3 separate regions of the Homo sapiens genome follow, and all the other regions are linked to region 2. Evidence: promoter capture Hi-C in 16 types of primary human blood cells and fetal thymus (Javierre and others, 2016). All regions are on one chromosome and are shown on one strand. The core of a region is centred on a gene start or on the middle of the fragment in contact, and the rest is flanking DNA. Distances in the headings are between cores, read along the strand shown.

What was found. Contacts are between HindIII fragments. The CHiCAGO score rates a contact against its expected background, and 5 or more counts as called.
Region 1: a fragment that was not itself captured here is called in contact with the fragment with the promoter of LYPD6B in region 2 in 1 of 17 cell types (endothelial precursors); the score reaches 5.3 in endothelial precursors.
Region 3: a fragment that was not itself captured here is called in contact with the fragment with the promoter of LYPD6B in region 2 in 1 of 17 cell types (naive CD8 T cells); the score reaches 5.4 in naive CD8 T cells.

What each region holds. Positions count from the first base shown.
Region 1 is chr2:149,484,939-149,488,808 of GRCh38, reverse strand. It overlaps a transcript of LYPD6 not described here. Among named protein-coding and RNA genes, the nearest start is that of MMADHC-DT, 100 kb to the left of the region's middle. The HindIII fragment of the contact is 987 bases long and covers 1,316-2,302 here.
Region 2 is chr2:149,037,275-149,040,959 of GRCh38, reverse strand. It overlaps LYPD6B (LY6/PLAUR domain containing 6B), which reads right to left and starts at 2,261. Exons shown (of 7, transcript NM_177964.5): 1 at 2,159-2,261. RefSeq lists enhancers at 1,769-1,828, 1,869-1,918, 3,132-3,191 and silencers at 1,999-2,158, 2,169-2,508. The HindIII fragment of the contact is 3,848 bases long and covers 1-2,966 here.
Region 3 is chr2:149,514,665-149,518,229 of GRCh38, reverse strand. No RefSeq gene overlaps it. Among named protein-coding and RNA genes, the nearest start is that of MMADHC-DT, 71 kb to the left of the region's middle. The HindIII fragment of the contact is 8,367 bases long and covers 1-3,565 here.

The sequences.
Region 1 (3,870 bases), core at 560-3,059, 450 kb before region 2:
CAGGGGTGTTGCTCTGAAGGAAAGAAATTCGACTAGAGAAAGTGATTAAAATGCTCTATTAACACTGGAAATGTAGAATAAACTGGATATTGCATCCATTTGGTTTTAGCGCATTCAATACATGACGTTATTTCAGCTCACAAAAGAGCATTCTGTACATAAAAATAATTCCCTTTCAATACCAAATGTACACGCTGTTGAGAATTCAACATGCCATTCTTATTTGCTATTATCATAGGTCACGACAGTGCCTCTAACTTACTATGTGACCTGGGATAAGTCATATCTCCTCTTTGTGTATCCATGTTCTCCTCTATCAAATGAACTGAGGATGTTTGGTTTAATTATTTCTGAGGTCCCTTGTCACATTTTAACAATAGAAATCTTGCTGCTTCTGTGTACATTTGGTCATTTGAATCTGCTAGTTTTGAATCATCTGCTAGTTTTCATTTGAATCTGCTAGTTTCCTTGAGCCAGTTTTACTACTTCTTTATTATTACTATTTATTGATATGCGGGCTTTGAAAGTAGGTATTTTCTCTTATTTAACAGTTGCTGTTATATTGAAACCTGATATTGATTGTCCCTAAAATGATATTTCTAATTTGTAGATTTTCTTAACAAAAATTCAGAATACAGAGTTGCAGAATCTAAAAGGGATGGGGTGGGGTGGGGAGGGGATGAGGTTTTTCTTCTGCCTGAAGATGGCAAGTGAGTTAATCCATGTTTCCAAAGAAAATAATCATAAAGCTACTCTTAAGAGAATTTCAGCATCTGTCCTGCATCATAAGGCAAGAGTGTTGATTTCCAATGTGCTCCCAGAGTCTATTCTTCATAAGCCAGGACCTAAGCAACAGAAGTTGGTGGTGTGATAGCGACCTCTCTGTTGGTGAATAAAGGGAAGGAAGTAAAATCAGTCACATCAGCATCAACATAGCTGCATGTGGCAGGGCTGAGAAAGGCTCTCTAAGCTTGCAGGTCATTTGATTCATGATCTGTCACACGGTAGATGCCTCAAGCCTTCAGAAGAAGTGTGTGCTGCACATATAGTCAATGGCCAGTGTTGAATCTCTCCTGGAAGGTAAAATGACTTGTCCCATGAGCAGCCTTCCTCCCAAATAATTCCAGAATGGGCAAGGGCATTAACTCATCTTATCCAAATGTCTCCGACTTTTCTCCACTGAGTTAACATAAACATTCTTGTTAATATTTCCAAATGAGAAAAAAAGAGATCTCAAAGATAAAATATTGATGGGATACCAAGTTTAGAGAGGCTTTGCAGATACAGACATTCTCATACACTGTTGGTATAAGCTTAAATTGGCACCTCTTTCAAGAGGGTAACTTGGTAACATAGAACACAGCTATAAACGCATAAAATAATTCCATTTCTATTAGTTATCCCACAGTTACCTCTAGAGGGTGCACAGATGTTTATGGCATAATTGTTTATAATAGCAAAATCTAGACACAACTTTTAGAACACACTGAATTTGAGTAAGTAGGGGATGAGTTAAATAAATTATGGCCCATCTATACAATGGAATACATACAGCCACTTAGAAAACAAAATGAATCTACATGTGCTAGCAGCAAAAGATGTTCCATATGTACTAATTTTAAAAGGCATATTGCAGATCTTGTTTTCTACATGTATATATGAATTCATTCACATAATTATATAAATACATGCAAAATTGTATATGCATTAGAAAATATTTAAAAAGTATACTCAAGAAATTATTAATAGCAGTTATTGCTGAAGAATGGGAAGAGATGGAGTGGAAAGGGAGAATGGTTTTACTTTTCTACAGAACAATTTCAAATTTCAATGCTCATGCATTACTTTTATATAAAAAGATTTTCAAAGTAAAAAACTAGAAACACCTAAAAAATAAGAAAGAGGAAATGATGAAATAAATTATGGCGCAATCATAAAATGTAATACTAACCAACCATTAAAAATTATTTCCTACAGTTCTACTTGCTGACAGAAAAATGTGATATATTGGTAAATTTTCAAGGCAGTTTACAAAACAAAAAGAGAAAGAGGGTGAGCCTGATAAGCACCGGAGCCCCTTAGGGGTGCATTCCAAGTCATGGTCTTTGTCACACCAGTGCCAGCACAGTGCCCAGCACACCCGTCAAGAAAGGACTGCTCATTTGATGCTCGCACATGCCTGCACCTGCACATGCTATGGGCTTACATTGCTGATGGCTGACCCTCGCAACAAGCTCATTTATCCCATTTTACAAGCAGAAGATTGAAGAAGATTAGGGAGAGTGTTTTAACTAGCGAAGCTTGAATCCGAACCTAGATTTGTCTTTTCAAACAGGAATATTTGTGAGACAATTAATCAACACATCAAAAAACATTCGAATGAACTGCAGAAAGATTATAGGACTACACTTGAGTTAGTACAAGAGTGAATGTGGAACTCATAATTCAGGAAGAGATCATTACCTTATCGAAACACCTGAGCAGTGAGGGGGCATGGTCTTTAGACCAGGTATTGAGTTCCTGATTTCTTGACTTCAGGTATATAACTGGAAATAAATATTGAAAGGATCATTAATAATCACATAGTTCACTGTTTTTCAAACTATAAGTTTTAACCCATTAGTGGAGTCATGAAATCAATATTGGTGTGTTGAAATTAAGACTTTTAAAAAATAGTAAACTGGAACAGAATGGAATAGAGACAATATTCAAGTGTAATATAATAATGAATACTGTGAAGGTCTATATCTTTTTGTGAAATGTATTTCAGTTGCATTTTTATATACATTAGAAATATGTGCATTGAGTCACACTACAAACTATTAGGATGAATGGCAGCCAGAAATGTTTTAAAACCCCTGATTCAATGTCTACTCCTTCACCAGTTGGTGACCCTGAGGTCTGGCGGGATTAGGTGGCTCCTTTAGGCCATAGTGTCTTTGCCTGCAGAACCTGGCTCCATATTGTGCTTCCCATGTACATTTTGTGTTTTAATGTTCCCATCTTTCAAATGGGGCTAATTTTGAGCTCACCTTTCTGACAGGGCCATTAGGGGAATGAAATTATCTTAAAATGCTTTGAAAAGATAAAACCTATAAATATGGAAACTCTACCCCATAAGACTTGCCGTGCTATTAATACAGGATGAGCTGCTGGGCTCTGGCAGGATCCAAAGTCACTGGCTCAGCGTCAGACAAACAGAGCAGGTTTCATGACCTGGAGAGTGAGAATTCCAGGTCCACATATGCTGACAGCTTAGAAAAAATGTTTCCAATCCCTAAATGGCTCACAGGTAGAGAGGAAAGCATGTGGCACAGGACCAGCAATGCAACATGGCAATGAGTACTTACAGAGCATTCCACATCACTGTCCTCCAAACGCCTGAAAGCAATTCCCTTTCAACTGCAATCCTTGCTCTATCTGCAACCCTTTAGCCTCAACAGGTGTACTAAATTGATAAGAAAGTTGCAATTGTGATTCACCTTAATGCTTTTTCCAGTGCCTTACTCTACTCAGTTTCATGCTGAGTAAAAACTTGCTTTTCTTTAGTCTACCAATGTACCATTTTATTACAGAAGTACAAAATTTTCTCCCCTCAGGAGCATAAGGAATGCCCTCCCCTTCTCCATCTCAAGATGTAAACATTTCATTCCTCTCTGGCCCTTAACTATGATCACTTGTGCTACGAATCCTTTTGGCTTGTGCTGAGGGGCCCGTGATGACCCAATTAACAGGGCTCTTTATGGAAGGTTTAATATCAGGCACTCCACATGCATAGTCAAAACACTGTGGCTGGATATCAGATATCCCAAGACAAGAAACAGAACAAGGCTAAGAAGTAGATGTTGTGAGATTGCTAAGTTTCCAACT
Region 2 (3,685 bases), core at 1,012-3,511:
CTAGACTGTGAGCTTCTCAAAAGCAAGCATTTTCGCCCTTGGCAGAGGCCCTGGCATATGTTGAGCATTTATTATATGTCGAATGAATGAATAAACAAAAAACAATGAATGAAAAGATGGACACACAGGATGCCCTCCATGCATTAGATGAAGACTTGACTGATGGAATACGGCCCTCAGGCTGTCTACATTCTACTGCAGACTACCTTTAGGCGCTGGTGAGCAAAGACAGAGATAGTAAAATGAACATGTCCTGTTTTGTCAGACTTCTCATTGGGAATTGCGCCCCCTACCGACATGCCTTGCAGCAGAGGTGGGCCAGTCTATCAATCACAGTCGGTCATGTGCCCATTCCTGTTGTGTAAACCTCTCCCTGTCTGCTGAGATGGCTTGGTTCTGTTTTGGTCCAGTATGTCAATAAGATTGCTATAAGGGGCCGGGTGCAGTGGCTCACTCCTATAATCCCAGCACTTTGGGAGGCCAAGACGGGCAGATCACTTGAGGTTAGGAGTTCGAGACCAGCCTGGCCAACATGGTGAAACCTCATCTCCACTAAAAATACAAAAATTAGTCCCACGTGGTGGCCGGCGCCTGTAACTCCAGCTACTTGGGAGGCTGAGGCAGGATAATCGCTTGGACCTGGGAGGTGGAGGTTGCATGCAGTGAGCCGAGATCACACCACTGCACTCCAGCCTGGGTGACAGAGTGAGAGTCTGTCTCAAAAGAAAAAAAAAAAAAGAGAGAGAGAGAGAGAGACAGAGAGAGACTGCTATACGGATAGAGAAGATGGGATTCTCTCTCTCCCTCTTTGTCTCTGTCTCTCTCTCTGAAGGAGCAGATAAGCCTGAAGGTGCAAGTCCTATTTATCGTCCATACTAAGAACCAGTAAACACAGAGAGAAAAACAGCTAAGATATACAAGAGAGAGAACTAGCCCTGGAACCTTGTATGAGCCTCTGGAACTAGCTATAGCTTTAAACTGAAACCCTCGACCTTTTCATTTATGTGACCCAATCAATTTCTACATAGTATAAGGCAATTTTCAAGTGACCAAAACCCAACCCAAAGAAAACAATTCTGACAAATACGATGGGTAATGATGAGGGCAGTCTGACAACACCCCCTCCATCTGCAGGGCCCGTGCACTGGCAGCCCTAATCTTGGCCTCTGTGATGCTGTCAGCAAGTAAGGCATCCTGGAGGAAGCCTAACCATGAACAAGTCAGGGTGGGAAAGAATGCCCCCACCCCACAACACACACATCACCACATCAACACAAAGGGGGAAAAATCAAGCAGTATGCTATGTACTCCATGAACATCATATAACCTAAGTCTGTTGTAATGATTATAATATTAATAATACCTATTTTACTTTAAGGGAACTGAGGCTCAGAGCAGTTCAGTAACTTGCCCAAGGTCACACAGCTAGTTACTGGAATTTAAATAGCATTCTAGACTTTTCCCACTCTCTGATCCCCTGGCCTTGGGAGGTGGACAGCACCCCTCCACCCACCAGCTCCCCCCAAACGCCACAGGGCATACAGACCTGAAGCCTCACAACCCAAGCCCCCTGGAGTCAGAGCAGCCTCCAGACCCGGCTTTTGAGAAGCCCCAGGTAACTAACCAATGTGTAAGGTAGGTTATTCAACAACAAAAGTAAAGAGCCGGGGCAAGGGAAGCGGCGGCACCCAAGCTGGTCGCGCGTGAAGCGCTGCAGGGGGAAACACTGGAGCTGGCACGCTCGCTCTTGGCCCCACGATCGGCCTTGAACCCCAGCCCCAGCTCCGCGCTCTCTCCAGCAGTTTGACCCCCAGTATCTCCTCTCCCCTCGGCTCTGCCGAAGTCACTGGCCCCGCAGGGCTCTGGACGATTAGAGACCCACACCGCTCCAGCCTTGCCCCGGCCCCCTGCTCCCGTCCCGTCCAGATGTTGGCAGCTGCTCGCCTCGAGGCAGCGACCAGACCCCGACCCCGCCACTGCGCCGCGGCCCCGCGGCCCCGCGGCCCCGCGGCCCCGCGAGCTCCTGGCTGCCCCAGCGCGCCCAGAAGGGGCGCAGCGCATCTCCCGCCGCAGTCGCGCGGCCCCGCACTCGCTCCGGCGCGGGGTGAGCCGTCCCGAACCCACCACCGCCCCCGCCTGCTGCGCTGGCCCAGCTCACCTCGCCGCCCGCGCCCACCGAGCCTCTCGGCGCCCTCACCCGGCTCCCGGCCCAGGCTCCCAGCGCACCCGCCTGGGGCCGGCGTTGGCTGCTACCGCGCGGGGCGGGGCGCGGCTCCTCCCTGCCCTGAACCACCTGGGGCGCGGGAGGGGGCCGGGCCGGGACAGGTGAGCCTCGCCCGCGAGGGAGCAGCCCCGGGCCCGGCTCCGCTGGGAAACCGCAGGGCTCCACCACGAGGTTGAAAGGAGGCCCAGGCGGGCGGCAGTGTGGTAGTGGCCAGCGCTGGGGAGGCGGCAAGGAGCCTGTTCCCACCCAGCCAGCCCGGCTCAGGAAGTGAAAGAAGCACGGGATTCGGACCCCACCCAGCTTAAAGAGGGGAGGGTCCAACCCCTTTCTTCCTAGAAAACCAATGTAGAAACGAGGAGTGCAGACCCTCGGGAGTGAAAATGATTGGGCCAAGGGTGCAGGTGAGTTAGTTCAGGATTGGAAGAACTCTGAAAGACCTTTTTTGACCATTCCATCCAACCCCGTCCCCACCTTGCCCACCCGTCAAGTGATTCCCTCCCCCTTTTTAAATAATGACATTAAGCTATAAATAAGATAATTTCATATAGTGACGTCCTCCCCACCCCTGGACGGTAAGCCCCAGGAGAGGCAGGAACCTTACCCGTCCACTACTGAATCACCAGAGCTTTGAAAACTCAGGGCATTTAATACCTGATGAACAGACTAGGTGGCGCCCAGTCTTTTGCGTCCAGCGTTAGACTGGTCCCCTCGGCCCAGAGCTGCTCCAGCATCATTCCAAGCTTACTAGGGAGAATCCAGAGGCAAGCTGTTAGATTCCGGGCCACCTGTCCTCTCTCTACTGCTTACTCCCCACCCACTGCCAGCCAGGCAGCTGGGATGTGGGAGGTCTACACTCCCAGGGCACCTTATAGTGGTCAAGCAAATCTTTAACTTCTGAAGATGCCACAGACAGGAGAACTCTGAAATAAAACACTGTCCGGCCAGCCTTGCACTGTGGAAACACAGCTCAGAGTATGGGCCACTGACCCAAGATTCCATGGCTGGTAGCAAAGCTGATCCTGGGTCTGCATTTCTAAAGACAGTTGGCTGGTCTGGGGCCTTTGAGGGGCTGCTGGTTATGCCTGCAGTGGGGAAACCTGGGTACAGAACTTCTGCAGAAGTGGGGTCTGGGTTTGGTCCTCTGCTGAGACTTCTAATCTGTCTTTCCAGACCTCTGAGGTCAAGCATCTCCTGAGCCAGCTTGCATTTATTGAGGCCCCTGACAACCGCAAAAACAAAAACAATGGTATTTTTAGGTGTTCCATTTAACAAATGGCCTTCACTCACACACACACACACACACACACACACACACACACACACACACGAGGTAATGTGTCATGCTGCTCCTCACATGTTAATTTCAAGACTCGTTAAAAAAATCCATTCCGTGAAAAAATTCATTTCACTGCAGAAAGCACTGTACAACTTTAAAGTTGTATGGAGAACATTCCTTCTTAT
Region 3 (3,565 bases), core at 16-2,515, 480 kb before region 2:
TGGAAACTTTGCTGAATTCTTTTATCAGTTCTAAGAGCTTTCTGGAGGAGTCTTTAAGGTTTTTGAGTTAAACAATAATATTATCTGCAAGCAGTGACAGTTTGACTTACTTTTTACAGATTTGGATGTCCTTTATTTTTTTCTCTTGTCTGATTGCTCTGGCTAGGACTTCCAGTACTATGTTGAAGAGGAGTGGTAAGATTGGGCATCCTTGTCTTGTTCCAGTTCTCAGAGGGAATGCTTTCAACTTTTTCCCATTCAGTATTATGTTGGCTGTGGGTTTGTCATAGGTGGCTTTTATTACATTGAGGTATGTCCCTTGTATGCTGATTTTGCTTAGAGTTTTTATCATAAAGCGATGCTGGATTTTGTTGAATGCTTTTTCTGCATCTATTCAGATGATCATGTGATTTTTGTTTTTAATTATGTTTATGTGGTGTATCACATTTGTTGACTTGCATATGTTAAACCATCTCTGCAACCCTTGTATGAACCCCAGTTGATCATGGTAGATTATCTTTTTGACATATTGTTGGATTCGGTTAGTTAGTATTTTGTTAAGCATTTTAGCATCTATGTTCACCAGCAATATCTGTCTATAGTTTCCTTTTTTGGTTATGTCCTTTCCTGGTTTTGGTATTAGGGTGATAATGGCTTTATAGAATGACTTAGGGAGGGTTCCCTCTTTCTCTATCTTGTCGAATAGTGTCAATAGGATTGGTAACAATTCTTCACAGCAGACTTTTTCAATATTTGTGATCACCAGATTCCTTTCTCACCGCCATCCTGTTAATAATTAATACTAGAATCTTACTTGGAATCTATACACTTCCCAATGATCTTTAGTGAAAAAATGCTGCTTCTTCATTTTGAGAACCAGAATCACATTTGTCCATTCCACTTTTTAATACCTTTCCCCTCTACAATTCCCTCATTGGAGAAACAATTCATTCCTCCTTGGAGCCTCAGAGCTCATTGAAACCTCGTGAAACAGCTCTTGCTCTGCCTTCTATTAAGGTTGTTTATTTAGATAGACATCATATTCCTTTACCCCCACCCCCAAGATATTCACACTTGATTATACATTCCTTGGTAACAAAAGACATTGCTTTTTTTTTTTTTTTTGCAGTGCCTTACACCATATATTTTCCTGCAGTGCCTTACACCATATATTTGAAAGACTGAATTGAACTAAAGTGCACAAAGGAAGAAAATTAGTTTTATCTATGCAGTCTCAAAATTATTTTTGGTCAAATTGGATTTTTTTCATCTATCTTAATGTCTAATTTGTTCATAGTTGAATCAGTCTTGCAGTTAATCTGATGTGGCCGTTAAGACTACTGAAGACAGTAAATTCATTTTCCTCATCTGGTGATTTTTAATCATATAGTCACAACCACTCACACAGAAAAATAAAACAGCAGACTAAATAGCAAACTAATAGCAGAATGATGAATGGAATTATCCCTAGGCCCAAAGGCTATTATACATAATCTACAGTCTCTGTCTAATTCATTCATTCAGCTTTGATTCAACACCCTTTTGTTAAGTGACAATAATAGTTACCAGTTACTGAATCCTTCCTATGGGCTAAGCACTTGAATAAGACAGTAATGTGGTGGCTACCAATATCGGGCTTGCCTTGAGTCCTGGCAACACCAGTTATTATTTGTGCAACCATAAGCCAGCTACTTCATTTTAAAACAAGTTATCATAAATATTAGTTATACCACTATTGTTAAAATATATTATCTCATTGAATCCTCACAACAACCTTGTGAGCCACTTTAATTTCTTCCTACTTTAATAATTTGCAAGGTACTGGGTGCTGGATGCTGTAGGATTTATAGAAATGACCACGTCTATAAATGACCTGATCCTGCCCTCAAGGACTTTACAATGAAGTAAAAAGGACTGAATTTTACATAATTAATTATAATCAAAAGCAGAATGAAATATTTCCCATAGCAATGTGAATGCAAAATGTTGGAGAGCACAGAGGATTCAACGGATGATGGCTTTATATAAAAGGTAGAATATGAGTTGAAACTGGAGGGGTGAAAAGGATTTGCAGAGTCATAACAGGGGTAAAGGACAATCCACAAAAGTGAGGGAGCCACAAAAGCAAAGCATGGCAGCATAAAAAAGCATTAGGGGTGCAATGCTGACCAGGGAGTGTTTCTCAACCTGCCGGCTGTAAGAATTATTTTACTGTGGCCCTACCAGGATTATTTTTGTATATGGAGTATATCAGCAAGACAATTAGAGTGCATCACACATAGAAAAGTTAAGGTTGGTTTTGTGAAATTTTTTTCAATGATATGTATGAGTATTGGGTCATAATGTAAAACATACTTCTTATTGTGGGTTGTGGTCTAATAAGTGGGGAAGGCGCTCATCTAGAGAGGTTGGAACCTAAGTCATGAAGAGAGATGGATTGTGGGGATGAGGCTGGTGTCCTAGAAAAATCATGTCTAGAAAAATAACGCTGTGGGATGATGTATTTACATTTTAGATGAAGAATGGAAGAAAGGAAACAAGTTAGGGAAAGCTGCAACAGTCTGTGCCAGCACATCCCAAATTGCTGTGAATCAAGCCTGTTCTGGGAGTTATTAGTAGGCATGAGGAGGGGAAAGTCTTTGGGTGAGCAAATACAGGCATTGTAACATGTAGATACAAGTGGGTCTATGGTAAAGCTAAGGAAGCTAAATCTTCTTGTTTTCATAAGTCCCTTCCAAGGCTCTGTTCTGAATTTTGTGTTCATAATTCTGTGTTCTTTTTCTTAAAAAGGACCTTCAGATTGTATAAACTTTGATACCCATCAAACGTGAATCTTCCTCAGCTTGTATATAAATTTAAGTAGGTGGCTTTTTCACAAAATAGGGCTTCTCAGAGACTTTAAGCTACTGATGTGCAGGCCGGGAGCGGTGGCTCACGCCTGTAATCCCAGCACTTTGGGAGGCTGAGGCAGGCAGATCACAAGGTCAGGAGTTCGAGACCAGCCTGGCCAACATAGTGAAACCCTGTCACTACTAAAAATATAAACATTAACCGGGCATGTGCCTGTCGTCCCAGCTACTCAGGAGGCTGAGGCAGGAGAATCGCTCTGTTGCCCAGGAGATGGAGATTGTGGTGAGCCAAGATCATGCCAGCCTGGGCAACAGAGCGAGAGACTCAGTCTCAAAATATATATACTCGGTCTCAGTATATATATACTGATGTGCATTTTGAATACCCCTGAGATAGTAATATTATACGTTCTCCTCTTTCCTCAAACTCCCACACCTCTCCCTTAACCCTTCCTCTCAACTGTCACTCACACCTCACATTTCACGAGCAACACAGAAGCCATTCAATGCAATTTCACTCATTGTCTCACCAATAAACCTACTGTATTGCTGTCAAAATTTATATCACAGCCCATGTTTAGGGAAAGGGTGACTTTTTTTCTTTATGTCTAATTGACCCCATCTTTCTCTGAAGTTCTCATTTCCACACACACACAAAAAAATGATAACAAGTTTACTAAGAGTAACTTGGTTTCTTTCCATTTAAAAGAAGCTGT